Regions from separate parts of the Homo sapiens genome. Here region 1 is linked to region 2. Evidence: promoter capture Hi-C in human tissues and cell types (Jung and others, 2019). All regions are on one chromosome and are shown on one strand. Each heading gives the region's core, a stretch centred on a gene start or on the middle of the fragment in contact. The rest is flanking DNA. Distances are from core to core; before and after follow the strand shown.

Region 1 (3,489 bases), core at 332-2,831, 390 kb after region 2:
TCAACCCCAGATACTCTGCCTTAATTAGATGAGGTTAGGCCCAGAGCCTTCCAGCTTACAAAGAAGGAAGAAAATGGCCAGTGACAGGTGAGGGGTATGGAGGCTACCCCAGACCACTTTGAATATTCTGTTATTGCTTTTGTTAATAGCAGAGCTTTATCGACAGCAGCAAGGGGGGCAGGTCCTGTGCCTGCTGTGGGCCTGACTACATTCAATCTAACTTACAACCCTTTGAGGCAGCTAACATTACTGACACTCTTAGAGAATTCGATGTGGCGTTGTGGGACAAATAAAGGGTTTGGCACTAAAAGGAATTGACTTCAAAACCAAGTTCTGCCAGTTTTTACTTGTATAATTTTTTAACTGAAGTTCACTTAAACCTAAGTCAGATTTGCCTAGTATGTAAAACGGGTTGTAAAAATTGCCCTAATTATAGAGTGGTGAAGATTAAACAGATGAGAATGGATCTTTGACCTTTGTAAGGCCTAAAATGTAGACTATTTGGTACTATGTTCACTGTTTGGGTGATGGGTTTACTAGAAACCCAAACCTCAACATCACTCAATATACCCATGTAACAAGCCTGCACATGTACCCTTGAATCTAAAATAATATTTTTTTAAAAATACAGTCCCAATGTTACTACAGAGGAGAGAGCTGAGGCTCAGAGCCAGTAAGTAATTTGCCCAAGGTCACACCAGGTCACAGCCCAGATCTTTGACAAACACTGTCAGCACCACTCCCTATACTGTCAGGCCTGTAGGACTAAACCACCAGATTAACACTTGCACAGTGCCTGCTGGCCCTGAAGGCCTTTGCATCTTTTGACCTTGTCTTAAAGGTAGGGTAGGATAGTGCTGAGTGATGAGAAGCAGGACAGGCTTCATGGTGTCTTTGGATAGCAGTTTTGAGACCAAAATCTTTCAAGTGCTTGGAGAATCACAGAATAGATGGAGTTCTCTAGGGCTGAGAGTTTACATTCAGGTAACTGGAGAGTTTTAAAGCTGAAAGGCATATCAACGGTAGATTTCACAAAGGAAAAGAAAATTGGAAAAACTCCAGAAGTAGACTGAGATTTAAGGTTTTTAAAGTAATGCTATAAAAAGACCTGCCTGGGAAAATAGGGCAGACTTGCCTTGCCTATAGTGGTTCTGAGGATCAGCTGAAATAGTGTACACGTGCTTTAAAAATTCGGAAGCAGCAGTTTTCAGCTCTGGCCACGTATTAGAATTGCCTGGGGAGCTTTTACAGAACTCCAGCTGTAGGTGCCCACCCCAGACCGATTAAGTCAGCACTCTAGGGTTGGGCCAGGCAGTGGTCTTCGTTAAACGCTCCCCAGGCAGTTAGATTGTGCCTTTACAGTTAAGAAATCACCACTCTAAAGCGTCATGAGAATACGAGTTGTAATTCTTTTATTATTCAAGTAGACCCAGGACTATTATGGAATAGGATGCCCACCTTCTACTGAGGTTCAAATAAGAGCTAACAGCTTTAATCTGGAGCAGAGGGGACGGGTTAGATCTAAGGAGAAGCTTTCTGTCTGGAGAGGGAGGGATTCAAAGAGCTCCTAAAGTGCTCGCCCCTCTCCAGGGTGCAAGGACCTTGGGACGACTTTGTGGCCTTTGTTCTTCATTTCCTCATTAAGAAAGAAAATAAAAACAGCCTCACAGAGATAACTTTCCAGGCTGGGGAGGAGGCCATGGGGCAGGCCGTGAAGTGCAAGAACACGGCACTTTAAAACCAGCTCCGTTTCAGGACAATGATGAGTTTCTGTCTTCCAGGCCTGCGGCACACCCAGCTCCCAAACAGCAAACATTTGTCATCCAGGCTGAGGATTTCAAGTCCTTTACAAGTAACATTTTTCTGATGATATAAAAAATAAGTTCATTTTCAAAATTAGGAAATCAAAAATATAAGAAAATAAAATCACCTATAATCCTACTGCCCAGAGGCAATCATTATTAATACCATTTTTGCCTGTTCCCTAGTCTAATATATATATATATATATATATATATATATATATATTTGATAATGAAAATGTTAGCTCACTTCTTCACAGCATTGATCACTCAAGTTAGTAAATTTGTAACTGAAGCTTAGATCAGAAAGACTCAAATCCAAATGCAGTTTAATGATCTTAAAAGTCCTTTTGGCTCAGTCTGTTTTCAAATGGTCCAATATACTGTCTTACTATACTTGGAAAAAATAATGAATGATTGCTAAGAAAATATGTTCACCTCTAGGAAAATTATATTGGAGCTGAAGAACAAGTTCCCAGATCACATTCTAGAAAGACAGCAATTTTTCTGTTCTCTGTTCCTGAATCATGGCAGTGGGACACCATATAGGTCCGCATTGAGACCCCAGTGTCTTCAGAAAAGCTCCCTGTTGCACCAGCTGTCTCAGGGATGATGCTGGGGAGCTTGGACTGGGAGCGCCAAGGAGCCAGATTTCTCTGAGACACTCTGGGTCCACGTGTCACTTGCAGCAGGGGACACATGTCACAAGAGCAAAGGGGTATAGTCCTGCCGGGGACCCACAGGTGTGAAGCATTCCCTACAACGGCCACTGATAACCCTCATAAATCACTCCTGGCTGGTACTCAGGCCCCTACCCCTGCTCTGTGGAGGGTGGTGCTGAAAGATAAGAAGCAGAAATCAACTGGGCACATGAAAAAGAACCTCCAGATATTTCACAGTGAACATTTGTTCTTGTTCTCTCTTCCTACCCAACGTGCTGAGCAACAAACTGTCTCTTGACTGCCTTTTGGCCCCACTCTCATTGATTTTCAACCCAAGAATTGAGCGCAGCTATTTCCTAGGGGCCATGTCTAGGTAATGATATAATTAAGAGGGCCACAGAGTCATTTGCATAACACTTGCTCATAATTAGCATCTTTGCTATAGTTAATTAGGACAATGGTTAAAAATCTCTACGGTGATTTTCCACCTTGAAGTCTAATTATTTTTATGACACCAAATTTTTTTGATGGCATACTATGTGTCAGGCACTCTACTGGGCCATGGGGCAGTAGGTTCAGGCCTTTAAGAACCAATGGCTTTGCTGGGGAGACAAGAAATCAAATTCATGTGACAGTGTGATTGGGCTACTAGTACCTGTATTTGAATCCTAGAGCTGCCACAACAAAGTACCATGAATTAGGTGGCTTGAATAACAGGAATTGATTGTCTCACAGTCCAGGTGTTGGCAGGGCTTGTTCCTTCTAGGCTGTGAGGGATAATTTGTCCCAGGCCTTTCTCCTGCCTAATGGCAGCCTCGGGCATTCCATGGCTTGTAGATGGCATTCTCCCTGTGTCCTCACATCATCTTTTCTATGTGTCTATGTCTGTTTCTGCCTCCAAATTCCACTTTTTACAAAGACACCAGTCATATTAGATTAGGGCCCACCTTAATGACCTCACCTTAATTCAATCAACTTTAAAGACCCTATCTTCAAATAAGGTCACGTCTGCAGGTTCACAGGTA
Region 2 (3,412 bases), core at 122-2,621:
AGTCCACCAATAAGTATCAGTAAATGCATCTGTGGAATTGAATTGGATGTTATCACCTGACAACAAACATTTGTAAGTTATTAGTGAGTGTATTTATTGTGATTCTGAGCTGTGCAAGTCAAGGAATTTCTATGAAAGATACATAAATGTTAATACACATATCTGATTAATACACATACCTGTATGGGTTTTTTTCTCATGTAAAGACAGCTTAGTGAATTTTGGAGGTAAGGGTCTTCGAAGAAGCAGTGGGGGCTTTTGCATTTTAATGAATAATAAGTGCTGTTTTTCATAATCCTTGGTTTAAATGAGAATTGAAAAGGTTTTGAATATGTTTGAATTGTTGAAAAATAATAAGAATTTAGATTACATCTTAAAGAAAATCATTCTGTACCAATACTCTACTGAATCCAGGCAGAATTCCTTTATGAAAAAAAAAGAGGGTAAGAAAATAATTCTTTAAAACTTCTATTAATAGAAAGAATCCAGTTAAAATGTAGGGTTATAAGTAAACATAGAATTTTAAAAATATGTGTATTATTACTACCCAGGATCATTCTACAATTTTCCATGTTAGTACAAAGTTCAATTTGCCAATGCTATTTCAACTAGTAAATACTGATTTTTCAGAATAGTCGAAATGACATTTTTTTTCTCTCTCTCCAAAATGTTATCGCTATAAATGTAGAAAGAGAATTTGGTCAGAAATGTGTAGAAGATGCCTTCATTAGATAAGCCTCTGAAGACCCACCATATCTAACCATTCACAAACAAATTGTTTTCTTTCTATAATGGCTTGTTTTTCAACCACTATGCTTGGGCCAAAACAATTCAATCCTAAAATAAGATGGGTTTCACTATAATGAGATTTCCCAGGGCTGCTGGATCCCAACTCATACTGTTTAGAAATAATGCGAGAAGATGCACCCCCAAAATGTGCTTTTAGTTTGCAGGGCAACATCAAAAGTGCCTGGCACGGCATTATTCCATTGATAGCCTAGAAGGGAACACCCTGAAACTGCACAAATGGGCCGTTTACCGCCAAAAGATAACTGCACACAAGCGCTCAAGGTGTACTCCCTGGTCATATGTTCCACACGATGCTGGAAATCTCCCTTCCGTAGTACCCAAAGAGGGGCATGGAAGTGCTGGACTCCCACACTACCCTTTAGGATAATCGGCCGCTTTCCAAACCAACTGGCTTTTCGTCTCCTATCTCCTTTTCCTCGGAATCTAGGCAGCGAGGTAAAGGTCCAGCGAGGGTCTTCCTGCAGGAGGCTGTTCCCGAAGAAGCACCACGGATCCCCACCCTCTAGGAGGCCAAGGAGACACACCCTAGCAACCGGGGTCCGCTAAGCCAGCCCAGCCACTTGACGCGCAGGCGCGGGGGCGGGACAGGCGAGGCGGGCGCGGGACAGGCGAGGCGAGGCGGGCGCCGGGAGGGGCAGGCCCAGCCCACGGTGCAGCGCGCGCGGAGCCCTCGCCTTCCTCCGACGCACTGTGGGGCTGCAGGGGAAGCTGCGGGCCGTGGGGGCCGGAGGAGAAGCCGGCTCCACGCGCAGCTGCTGTACGGAACGCCGTGGTGACAATTGTTATTACTATTTTTATGCTTAATGGCAATGACCACTATTATTTATTATTTTCTCTCGATTACAGGATGCTTTACTTGGGTGTCTAGAATATGGGCTGGCATTCTTTAAGGCTGCACTTTTGTGCAGCCGGGTCCCGGGGCTAATTTTGCAGTGCTCTCGAAAAGCGGGCATTCGGTTTTCTTTCTCTTCCTTTCATGCAACCTGTTTTCTCTTTCTGATCCTTTAAAGTTCCTGGCTGAGGCTGGATTGTGTAGAAATAAGGGCATTAGGGATCCAAGCGGGCCATAAAAGAAACCCATTTCTCACTGTCATCGTCCTCTGTTCTGGTTATCATATTGTGACGTGTCGCCTCTGTCATGGTGTTGATGAACCTGTGTGTGCAGTCATAGATACATCGTGTGTGTTTGCAAAAATGTGCGTGTTTCTCTGGAGATTTGAGGGGGAAAGAGCACTAGAAAGAGCTCATCTGATAGATGCGGAAATCCGAACTCAGAAAGTAAACTAGGTAGAGCTTCCTTCCAGGTTTGGTTTTTTCTAAGTACTAGCGCAGGAACTTTATAACAGAAGTTGGAAAATGAGAGACTTCTGTATAAATCTTTCTAGCTTTGGGGATCTTTCAAGATTCACACCATAACCATGTCTTCCTTTTTCTCCTTAGTAGCAAACATGTTTTAAAACAATCAATGAAAAAAGTAGAAAAGTTTTAACAAAAAAGTAATCAGACTCTGGAAAATATTATGCAACTTGTTTTCCTTTACAGTAGTAGTGTACTGTTTCTTTTCCTTGTAAGTTTACTGTGTCCCAATTATACTGCTGCCCCAGACTATGAATTTATTTCCACTTTTGCTGTTATCTACACCATAGATTCATTAGTTTCTCAGAAATACAAAGCTGAAAATAAAAGGCAGCTCTGTGGCTAAGATTAGTCTCAAGTAATATATATCGTGCATATTTTGTAAATGTGAAAAAAGGTTTATATTTTTAAGCATAAAAAATGACAGTGTAAATTGAGTCAGGTACCTATGCTCTTCAAGATCGTTGGAACCATGAGAACTACAGGAATTCAGTTTTACTGACTGACGTTTGGCCTTTAAAATTTATGCTTAGCTTTGTGTAGTCGAAAGCAAGGCTTCTGAATGCTTTTTCAAAAAATGCTTTGTCACACTTGGAATCCGCAGGCATCCAGGTATCATTCCTTGCAGATTTCTTCTAGCAAGTATGAGACTAAAACCTAGGGCGGTTTAATATGTAATCTCAGGTGTGAACATTTTGTCTTCTATTTCTACCACTTAGTACCAAACATTTAGGCAAATGAGATAGTTATTATGAAAATTAAATCCATGGCTTGGTATATTTTATATGTATATATGTTATTCTAACACATCTGACTCGCTTTGTCTATGGAAATGATATATCAGTATAGGATGAGTTTAGACAGGACAAACAAAATTCAATTTAGATTATTTTATAGTTCTTATATTTTTGAAAATATTATCCCCTCAATTTTCTTTCTTCTTTTGTAAAATAACGTGTTTTTGAAATAATGAATAACTCCCTTTTGGATTTTAAGGGTCTGCTTTTTCTGATGTATGTACGGTCAGCCTATTTATTTGTTCCGTCCCCTTTGCAGTTTGGCAGAACCTTATGAAGAAGCTTCCCAAACTGAACCACAGTGCTTTCACTCTATTAGCAAATTGTACTAAAGATGCCAGCGTAATGATGAGTGCCAAGGTTATAGACATCCTGCATTTTTTAAATGTTGCTAAAATGAGATAAAAGCCTTATGCAGAAGCAACCGCAGGCACCCCGCAGGTAATGCT

What was found. Contacts are between HindIII fragments. The study calls those that stand out against the background at their distance.
Region 1: a contact is called between a fragment that was not itself captured here and the fragment with the promoter of LRRC63 in region 2, in 1 of the 25 tissues and cell types used here (dorsolateral prefrontal cortex).

The regions. Positions count from the first base shown.
Region 1 is chr13:45,821,060-45,824,548 of GRCh38, reverse strand. All of the region lies in intron 1 of SIAH3 (siah E3 ubiquitin protein ligase family member 3), which reads left to right. Among named protein-coding and RNA genes, the nearest start is that of SIAH3, 29 kb to the left of the region's middle. The HindIII fragment of the contact is 3,191 bases long and covers 1-3,176 here.
Region 2 is chr13:46,209,887-46,213,298 of GRCh38, reverse strand. It overlaps LRRC63 (leucine rich repeat containing 63), which reads right to left and starts at 1,371. Exons shown (of 10, transcript NM_001282460.2): 1 at 1,040-1,371; 2 at 180-297. The coding sequence starts at 264. It overlaps LOC107984578 (a long non-coding RNA gene), which reads left to right and starts at 1,447. Exons shown (of 4, transcript XR_001749863.3): 1 at 1,447-3,404. RefSeq lists a silencer at 1,286-1,615. The HindIII fragment of the contact is 9,677 bases long and covers 1-3,412 here.